Regions from separate parts of the Homo sapiens genome. Here region 2 is linked to region 1. The links are contacts of gene promoters, found by promoter capture Hi-C in human tissues and cell types (Jung and others, 2019). All regions are on one chromosome and are shown on one strand. The core of a region is centred on a gene start or on the middle of the fragment in contact, and the rest is flanking DNA. Distances in the headings are between cores, read along the strand shown.

Evidence for each region. Contacts are between HindIII fragments. The study calls those that stand out against the background at their distance.
Region 2: a contact is called between a fragment that was not itself captured here and the fragment with the promoter of CLOCK in region 1, in 1 of the 25 tissues and cell types used here (lymphoblastoid cells).

The regions. Positions count from the first base shown.
Region 1 is chr4:55,544,506-55,549,891 of GRCh38, reverse strand. CLOCK (clock circadian regulator) reads left to right here and starts at 2,983. Exons shown (of 23, transcript NM_004898.4): 1 at 2,983-3,110. It overlaps LOC124900704 (a long non-coding RNA gene), which reads right to left and starts at 4,027. Exons shown (of 2, transcript XR_007058122.1): 1 at 3,282-4,027; 2 at 2,003-2,276. RefSeq lists silencers at 2,708-3,077, 3,138-3,237, 3,358-3,987. The HindIII fragment of the contact is 10,162 bases long and covers 1-5,386 here.
Region 2 is chr4:55,988,525-55,993,910 of GRCh38, reverse strand. CEP135 (centrosomal protein 135) reads right to left here. Exons shown (of 26, transcript NM_025009.5): 15 at 1,826-1,977. Among named protein-coding and RNA genes, the nearest start is that of CEP135, 42 kb to the right of the region's middle. RefSeq lists an enhancer at 2,773-2,932. The HindIII fragment of the contact is 4,847 bases long and covers 1-4,677 here.

The sequences.
Region 1 (5,386 bases), core at 1,734-4,233:
CTTATATTCTCTATTAAGCATATCTTAAAGCTTCCTGTTCTCCAATTCACCTTAAAGTATGGTAGTAAAACTAGGAATGTCAATGAATGGATGAGTTACTATGAAAGAACAGATATGACTTTGTGACTGATGGGACATAGGAGTTAGGGCAAGAATTAGAGCAAAAGAGACATGAAAATTACCCAAAAAGGAACATCATTGACAAGAATAGCCAACATTTCTATGGGATTTCTTATGTACCAGATAAAATTACACACACACAGACACACACACTGTCTCGGTTAAGCTATGAGATAGGATTGTAATTATCCCATTTTAAAGATGACGAAATTAAAGAACAGAGAAATAACTTGCTTAAAGTCATGCAGAATATTAGTGGTGAAGCTATGATTTAAATCCAGGCAGTTAAGATCCTAATTTTGTACTCTTAACCACTATGATACGTTGCCTACCAACTGGGGGAAATCAGTTGACAGAGGAGTTGGAAATACTCAGTTTAAATGATAGCAAGGTTCACAAGAAAGGGTGAACAGAATATCTGAAATTATGTTTAAGGCTATGGAATATAAATTTAGGAGCTATGAAATTATGAGGCAGGATTTTTGTTTTATGGAAATGTGGGATCTGGAAGTTGGAAAAGCTATTGGAAATATCCAATACAGGCTGGGTACAGTGGCTCGCGCCTGTTAATCCCAGCACTTTGGGTGGCTGAGGTGGGTGGATCACTTGAGGCCAGGAGTTCAAGACCAGCCTGGCCAACATGGTGGAACCCCATCTCTACTAAAAATACAAAAATTAGCTGGTGTGGTGGTGGGAGTCTGTAATCACAGCTACTTGGAAGGCTGAGGCACAAGAATTGCTTGAACCCGGGAGGCAGAGGTTTCAGTGAGCTGAGATCATGCCACTGTACTCCAGCTGGGCAACAGAGCAAGACTCTGTCTCAAAAAATCTGTCTCAAAAAAAAGACATATCCAGTACATTTTTTCTTTTCTTGGAGAGAATGTGGGAGAAAGGAGAAGCTGTGAACTGAACCATGGGAAATGTTCAAGCAGTGAGAGAGGACTGAGCAGAAAAACGGGGGATTATCAACAGGTCTTGGTAAATAATTAAATACAGTGAAAGAGGGAGGAGTCAAAGATGGACATGGTTTGATCTTGGTGACTGAGAGGACAATGAAATCATTAAAAAGGGCAAAGGTATTTTGAAGATAATATGTTCTAGATGATGGGGAATATAAGGAGGGATCAGTGTCTCTAGAATAAAATTCAAAAATCCATCCTAGGGAAAGCATTCAAGCCCTCTCTTGTCTGGCTGCAACCTACCTTATCAGTATTAATAACTTTGCCTCCGTCTTGCTACCTACCTCTTGTCAGTCGGGACTCTTGATTACATGTGAAAGAAAACCTCTCACTGGTTTAAGCAATAAAACAGATGCAAGAATTTACTGACTGGTTTAACGAAATTTCCAGAGGAATCTAATCTACATTTGTTTCCAGGCCTCAAACATGTCTTTAGGCCAAACCTGTCTTCAAATCTGCTTTTTTTCCGTGTTGCCTTCTTTCTCAGAATTCACGTGTGGAAAGATGGCTCCAGGTCTCCATTCTCCCAGATTTAAACCCATTGGTAAAGACGTAACACCCTTCTTAGGAACCGTAGTTTGCAACCGAGGATTAAACTCAAATATGCCTTCCCCTTGTGTCCTGCTCAGACCATATGGACTGAGAGTGGATAAATGATAGTTCTTCAAAAGAAATTATCAGAATAGGGAATGAATGCTGAACAGGCAAAAATGTCGACCAAAATATCTTCTGCTATATGATGGGGTAAATTAACAAATCATGTTTTCCCACTCCTGAAAGAAAAATCCTTAGGTGCAGGATCAAGGATCTGAATAAGTGCTTCAGTTTGATGTTCTTTTGCCCAGAGCATACAGCAAGAATTGAAAATGTTTACTGAGGTGACTGTTACTTTAAAGGGAGGATTTTACGGCCAGAAAAGTGCATTTTTTGAAAGAAAAAGATGGCTTTTATTTCAAATCCAAAAGATATTCATTAAAACATAGGAATTACTAGGAATTAAGACTGTAAAGATCTCTTTTCCAGTAGAAGCACTGAAATGTGCTTTCTCATGTGGACCAAATGTGCCTTAACGCATCAAGATAAGTAATTTCCCGAAGATAAGTAGTAGTCACACGTTGTTCCAACGAGGAAATCCATGCAAATTAGGGTCCTGGTTTATTTCTGATGCTTCATTCTCCATCTTCCATTACACTGTCACTTGATTTTTAATAAAAGGGCAAGGGAAAAATCTCCAAATGAGCAAATAAATCCCGACCTCCTTTCGCTTCCCTCCTCTGGCCGAGGGCGCATGCCCTGTCTCCCCAGGCCCACCCACCAAGAAGAAGCAACCCAAGCCGCGCTCCCTCAGGAGATGGGAGAAGATGTTACTGGCGGTCCAGGCGCCTTTGCAACTCTTCTCTCCCAGCACCAGGAGAGGAAACACGAATGATGCCACTGGGGGAAAAAGTCTCCTGCCAACACCCGAAAAATCTAAGCTGGCGTCGGCAGTGTTTTGCTTTGGAAGGGAGAGCGGGTTCCTTTTCTGGCCTCTGGATCCCTCATCCGGCAGGAAGCTCTTCTTCCTCCTCCTAGCCCCCGGCATACGGGGGGAAAGCCAAAGAGCCTCCAGGACCTAAGGCTAGCGCTCTGCCGGCCGGCCGCGCCCTCCACCCGACCAGGCCCCGCCTCCCCGGCTTTCTAGTAACCGGCGCCGTTCCCGGCCGGGGCAGGGAACGGTGCGCCTGCAGAGCCAGATTTCGGCCCAAGGGGCGCGGGAGTCTCTTCGGGCGTCCGGGATCCCCTGGCGCGGCTCCGTGCTGCCTAACGGGGCAAGTCGCATGCGCACCGAGCCGCGCTGGGGAAAGGGAGAGTGAGGGGAGGGGCGAGCGCAGAGCCTCCGCCGGCCGTCTGAGCCCGCGGGGTCGCTGACGACGCATGCGCCGGGAGGGGGCGCAATCACGGACTCGGCTTGCGGCTGCCGGTTTAAAAAAGGAAACCCCGGAGAGCGAGAGCGCGAAGGAAATCTGGCCGCCGCCGCCGCGAGCGCTCCCGGTGAGAGGCGCCCGCCCGGTGGGCCCAGGGCCTGCCGAGTGCCGGTTGGCTTCCTTGGCGGCGCATGCGCGCTCCTGGGCTGGTGGAGGAGGGGAAGGGAAGGGAGGGGGAGGAGGAGCTGGCCACAGGAGCGGCGAATTTTTGGGGGGGTGGGTGGGGGGCGCCACTCACAGCCCCAGGTGCTGCTGGAGGTGGGAGCCGCGGCGCCTCCTGGACACAGGCGGGGTAGTGGTTCCGAGTCACCGCAGCGGGAGACCTGGGTGGGGGAGGGAAGAAGCCGGAGCCGCCGCAAGCCACACGGTGAGGGCGCGGGGAAGGGGAGGGAGCGGGGGGCGGCGTGTGTGGGGCCGGGGGGCGGCGGCCAAGGGTGGGGAAGGCGGGAGCTGAAGCCCAAGTTTGGCGTGTCGTTCTAGTGTGTCTTTTCCCGGGACTTCGGGCCGAGGCCCGCCCTGCCTGAGAGGCCCTCTGGGGCAGCTGGGGTTACCTGCGGGGCAGGGGCGGGAGTGGGGTGCACGGCGGGGCCGGGCGGCTTGAGGGCGCCCGGAGCTGCGGCCGATTCCAGCAGCTGGGAGGCGGGGAAAGACGGGGACCGGGTGCCGAGAGAGCTTTCGCTGGGGACCCGCTAGGCCTTGTGACCCACTTTATTCCTGTCACCACTCGGGCACGTTTGGAGCAGCGCCCAATGGGGCGCCGGGGCGGCCAGCTCCTCCGGGGAACCCCCGCCCTCCCGGCGCCCGGCCCGCGTGCCGCAGTCCGCAGTCCGAACGGCCGCCGTTGCCGGCCGCGGGCTGGTTCCGTTAGTGGTGGTGGTTCCGGGGTTCCGTTCCTAGGCAGCGCGCGGCTATTAGCGTCTGACTCCAGCGACCGCGCGCGGGTTCGAGGGTTGGCGGCGAGGCGCTCGGTTTCTCTTCTTCCGTCCACCCGCGCTTCCCGTTCCCCGTCACCGCCGCTGGCGTTTGTAGATTTCTTTCCGCCAGTGAAGCTGGGTTTTCTGGAGTTGGCTCTGGCGCTCTGGCCCCTGGAGTGTAATTTCCTACACGCAGCGCCGCAGAGTTTATATTCTTTGAAAGTGTTTGTAGCTTTGTAGAGGTCCTCTTGTTGATGGTAGGTGAGCCTAATTCTGCAAGATAAAAGCCTAGTCTCTGACCTGGCAGATGAAAGATCAAATCAGATTGTGGTTTCCTGCTATTAGAATGCCGTGCTATTAGACTTTAAGGCTTTTTAGCCTTCTTTAAAAAATAAAAAAATTTTTACAGTGGAAGAAAAGCACAAGAAGTAAACTTTTACAGTCGTTGATTTGACTATAACGCTGATCCCCCCAAATCAAAGGTAATTTCACTTTGAAGATTGCGTTCTGATTTGTAGCTTTAAGCGATTAGAGAAAATTGTGCAATATTCCCCTCTACCTGTTTGAAAATAAACATTCTTAAAAGGATGTAATTTAGATAATGAATTGCTTTCTCTGAAACTTATCCCTTGGGACACCTCAAATCTGATTGGTTTTCAAAGCTTGGGGGAAGGAAATTAATTCCTGTGATAAGTGGTTGGCTGAACAGAATGTCTTGAAAGGTTAGCCTGTAGCATTAGGAGAAATACCTAATGTAAACGACGAGTTAATGGGTGCAGCACACCAGCGTGGCACATTTATACATATGTGACAAACCTGCACGTTGTGCACATGTACCCTAGAACTTAAAGTATAATAATAAAAAAAGTAAAAAAAAAAAAAGTTAGCCTGAAGAAAGCAGACTGAAAATGTTCTAAAGCTAGGCGTAATCAGTTATGAAAAAAGAATAAGGAAGCTTTCTACGTACTAACATGCAAAGATTGCAAAAATTTGCTATGAAGTGAAAAAAGCAAGGTGTAGCGGTACTTTGTGAATAGTGTGTTACATCTTAAGGGCGAGGTGTAATAATACAAGTTTATGTTTGCTCTTTATATAAAGAAATTATGGGAGGATTTAGAAAACTAACAATAGAGGAGAGGGAGAAATAGTCTGAGGGAATGGTGGGAAATGAGATGTATTATGTGTATGTCTTCATGTTTTCAAATTTTTGTGTGTATTATGGACTCATAAACTGGATTAAACAAAAATCCTCCTCCCCCAAATAATTTGTGTGATTTTTGTTGCCTAATTTATGGTGATTTGAGTCATTTTCAATATGATTGCTTTTCATATTTTTTAGGAAAATCAACTAAAAAGGAAGTTTGGGATACCTTTTATGACTATTTACACTTTAATTTTTAAGATTGCAGAGGTCACAGGCATTTATCTT
Region 2 (5,386 bases), core at 1,005-3,504, 440 kb before region 1:
TCTCACAATAGCCCAGTGACTGAATTACTCCTAGGTGAGGGAAGAGGCTGATTGAGCTCATAAGAGAAAAGGATATTAGTAGTAGTACAAGAAATAAAACTCCAAAGGAGCTATAGGCTAGGTTATCCAAGAAAGGGCACTGAGAGCTCTGCCTTCTAAGACTGGAAACAGCCTCCTGTGAGGAAAAGAGGTGTTTCAGCCATAATCTCAAGGAAAAACAAAATGGATTACATGCTAGATCCAGTCAGCTGGACACGAAAGTGACAAGTGAAATTCTGGATGACAAGAATATGTCATGTTATCTGTACTTTAGAGCTGAATCCAGACATGAGCCAGAGGAGATACCAGTCCATTCAGCTCTCCTCTCACAGAAAAAAGCAAAGAAAAAAGCAGTATCTACTTTAGTTCTTCCTGAGGTCTAACCTACCAAAACTATCGTCAGAGAAGCAAAAGAACAAAACTGGAGATGCTCTTTATGAGTCGCTAATATAGTATTCCTTAATTAACTAGACACACCCAGTTCTTGGTCTTATTTCATTAAGTCATTAGACAATCAGAGAACCCTTATGAACTACAGTCTCAGACTTTTCTTTTCCTAATTCCTTTGATTCTCGTATTTGCTCTGTTTACTATATACTTTTGTGATTCCTAGTTTTTTGTATATTGGAACTATGTCTTTTTTCTCATCATTTACTTTTGTTCTTTGGAGTTCTGGGTGACTTTCATCAGTTTGTTTTTTCTATTTCACCAACTCAGTTTTCTGCCAATATCCAATGCCATTCACTAACTTTTCAGTTTTAATTTGTTAAATCTTTTTTTTAAAGTGTCATTACTATAATCCTTTCTGATCTCAAGTTGTCACTGTTTCATGACTAAATGTTTCACAGATGTAATGTCTTGCTGACATTTGAAAATCTTTTCCTGATTCTGACTGCAAATGTAATTTAGAGAGAGGTATTTCCTCAGATTCTTCAGAGCGGTCCCCTTATTCCGACCTTCATTATCTTGTTACTTATTGCAGCTACTCTGATCAGAAAAAAAGCTTTGTTTGCCTTTTGTTTCCTTGAGTCTTCTGTATTCTAAATTAATTAATGACTAACCAACAACCCAATATGCTAAGGTAAATGTTCTACTTATCGTATTTCTCAGCCCCATATTAGTCATCTAAACCTTTTGATTTTATATAAAAAGTGTTTCTTAAATTTGGTCTCTGTTCTCTAAGTTCATTACCACTGCTTCAGTCCAGATCCTCGGTCTCCTTTTTTTGCCATCAATCTCTAAGACTTGAAATCCATGTTCCATATTTCCACCAAAGTTAGCTTCCTAAAAGGAACACTATTGATATGTCTTACCTCCCTACTTAAAAACTTCTGTTTCTAAGTCAGAAAGGGTTAAAAATTGGAGGTAAATTCTTTGACTTTACGTTTCACTGAAAGAGGCAAGAAAGAGAAAGAAAATGGCATAGGTAGTAAACAATTCTGTAATTTTCAGTATCTTACACTATGAAATACAAATGATCTGAAGTATTTAAGAGGATTTCAAAAGAAGGTTGAAAAACTTTGCCTGCAATCATATTAATCTGTGAAATTTCTTTTAAAAAACACAGATACCCAAAACCTACCCCAGTAGATTCTCAGTGAATTAGAACCTCCCAAAATCAGCCCCTTAAATTCATACTTTTCAAAAGCTCCCAGGTGAGTCTACTGCAAAGCCAACTTCTAAAACTACTGCACAAAGGCCCAGTCCAAAATGCCATGATTATAAACTTTACATAACCACAAACACATTCCCAGAAATGAAATTAGAAAATTTTGAATAAACTTACCTAAGTGAGTTCACCTCTGTTTTCTGATGAGATGAGTCACCAGCCACATGGCTAAATTTTTGAGCTTGGACTTTTAATTTGTTCTCTAACGACTCTATTGTTTCTTTCATTATTAACACTTTAGACTTTAATTCATATTTTTCGCTTTCAAGCTATAATTTAAATAAAAAAACAGTAGGTATATATCTTAATACGTTAATGATATTTTTCTTAGGCACTCTTTAATAATATTTCCGGAAGAAAACTAAGAAAATAGATTTATTTTTAAAAAAACTTTATAAGTCATGTGTACAGTTTAGGTTCTAAGAGTCAGAATGGGTGTAAAATTTCTTTCTCCTCACTACCATTAAAGATACAAACAAAATATAAAAAGCACGAAGAGAAAAGAATATATCTATAACAGCAATGAAACAGGAAGGAAACCACTGGCAGAGTGAAAATTTTGGGGAATTTCTAAAACACAATAAGTAAATAGGACTGAATTGAGGGGAAAAAAACACAGCACAAAACACTGTAACCCAAACACAAAGTGGGCAAGATCTATGTGAAGAAACAGTATAATTTTCCTGAAAAGCACAGAATATAACCTGACATAATGTACAGGCAACACAATGTTTCTTGATGGGAGCACAATATTGTAAATACACTAAAATTTCCTCAAATAATAGTAAATTCAATGGAATTCCAATACAATTCTAACACAAGCTTTTTAAAAATGGGGATGGCTTAGATTTGATTCTAAATTCATTTACAAAAAAAAAAAAAAAGAAAAAAACAGGAAAAATTTTTGGAAAAAATACAAGTATACTTGCTTTATGAGATATCAAAACAAACTATAAAGTTATTATATGGGAGGCCACGGTGGGCATATCATGAAGTCAAGAGATGGAGACTATCCTGGCTAGCACGGTGAAACCCCATCCCTACGAAAAAATACAAAAAATTAGCTAGGCGTGGTGGCACATGCCTGTAGTCCTAGCTACTTGGGAGGCCGAGGCAGGAGAATCGCTTGAACCCTGGTGGCAGAGGTTGCAGTGAGCCGAGATCACGCCACTGTACTCCTGCCTGGGCAACAGAGTGAGACTCTGTCTCAAAAAAAAAAAAAGTTATTATAATTAGAACAGTGAAGATTTCACATACAAATGCGCAAGCAAATTTATGAAAGTGAAAACAGTGAAAAATATCATGCACAGATGTAAATTTAGAAAAGATAGCATTTTTGGGAAGTAGGAAAAGCATAAACTTAAAAAATAAGAGTAGGGGGCTGGGCGTTATGGTGGCTCACACCTTTAAGCCTAGTACTTTGAAGGCCAATGCAAGAGGACCACTTGAGGCCAAGAGGATTGCTTGAGGCCAGGAGCTCGAGACCAGCCTGGGAAACACAGTGAGACCCTGTCTCTACAATAAAATTTTTTTTTTAAATTAGCCGGGCATGATGGTATACCTGTAGTCCTAGCTCCTAGGGAGGCTGAAGAGGTGGGAGGATTGCTTGAGCCCAGGAGTTGGAGGAGGCAGTGAGCTATGATCATACAACAGCACTCCGGCCTGGGCAACAGAGCAAGACTCTGTCTCTTTAAAATAAATAAATAAGTGTAGGGACAAACAGTCACTGGAAAAACAACTTAGCTGGATTTCTTCTTTATTTTACATACAAAAATAAATTCTAGATGGGAAAATGACCTACATTTAAATTTTAAAACCAATAAATATTAGTAATAAATGTAAGTCTTCCAGTTAAAACTGTGGACTGACCACACATATTTTATCTCCCCTCCCTCTGAAAGCATTGCTAAAATGACAGTAAAGGAATAAGAATACACAGCTCTAGAAGCGAGGTTTTTAGAAGAAAAAACTGAAACTGATGTTTGTGTATTCAAAACATATTTAAAGGCATAAGTCAGAGATAATGGAACTCTTGACAAAAATTAGCAATAGGTTCAATGAAAACCAGGTAACAAAAAGCAAAGCAAACCAAAACAAAGTCAATTACTAACAAAAGGAAAAAAATTTACAAGAAAAAAGAAGATGGATCAGTCACCACTACTCCATCACAGCACAAAAGCAGTCACAGACAATATGTAAATAAATGAGCAAAACCATGCTGCAAAAACAGACTGGAGGCTGCATTTGCCCTGGGGATCATATTTTGCTGAGCTCCATCATATCTGGTACATATCTAGAAAGGGAATTGTTGGCTCATAGGGTATGCCTTTGCTAGATAACACCAATTTTTTTGGAACAGATATGAAGTTTGCACTCCTAGGAGCTACACATATTTGCTAATATATGTTACAACTTGATAATTTCTAATGCCTTGATGTAAAATGATTTTACTGTTTTAATTTACATTTCCCCCATTATTGAGGTAGAATATCTTTTATGTTTATTAGCCATTTGTAATTTCTTCCTCCATAAAGAGTTTATTCACATCTTCTGTTGAGGCTTTTTCAGGGGAGGGGGATTAAATGTGTAGCAAACTGTTCTATCAGTGGCTTATCTTTTCAATTTATAGTTAAGTAGATAAACAAAGATTTTTTTTTGCCAATGTGGTCCTATTTATCAGTGTTTTCCTTTAAGGAATAAATTTATTTGTGTTTGTGTCTTGTTTAGGGGCACACATTCTGGCACCAGACATCTGCTAGCTGTGTGATCTTAGGCAAGTTTCCCCTCTGCCTCAGTTTCCTTATTTGTGAAATGAGGACAATATTAGCATTTACTTTATATGACTGTTATGAAAATTAAAATAATTGGGTATAAAATGTTGAGAAAAGTATCTGAAACATAGTGAATGCTATATAAATGACTGATATTATTATTTCTCCAAGGTCAAAAAGATCTTCTGCATTTCTTTAAAAAATGTAGTAATATCTTGAACATTCAAGGCTGTAAGTAACCTTTAACTGATTTTTGGGTGTGGCATATTTGAGTTAGGATCCAATTTTTTCCTTTTAAAATATGAATAGCCAATAGTCTGAGAAACAATTAGTGAATAATCATTCCTTTTCCCACTGATCTGAGTTACTTCACAGATCAAATTCTTACATTTGTGGGTTTGCTCTCTACTGGGTTTGATCAGTCTCTCCCAATCCCTGTTGTTTTATTATGTTTTTTTTTTTTTTCGAGACGGAGTCTTGCTCTGTCTCCCAGGCTGGAGTGCAGTGGCGTGATCTCGGCTCGGCTCACTGCAAGCTCGGCATCCTAGGTTCATGCCATTCTCCTGCCTCAGCCTCCCGAGTAGCTGGGACTACATGCGCCCGCCACCACGCCCGGCTAATTTTTGTATTTTTTTTTTAGTAGAGACGGGGTTTCACCGTGTTAGCCAGGATGGTCTCGATCTCCTGACCTCATGATTCGCCTGCCTCAGCCACCCAAAGTGCTGGGATTACAGGCGTGAGCCACCACGCCCAGCCATTTTTTTTTTTTTCTGAGACGGAGTCTTGCTCTGTCACCCAGGCTGAAGTGCAGTGGCATGATCTCAGTTCACTGCAACCTCTACCTCCTGGGTTCAAGTGATTCTCCTGCCTCTGCCTCCCAAGTAGCTGGGACTACAGGCGCGTGCCA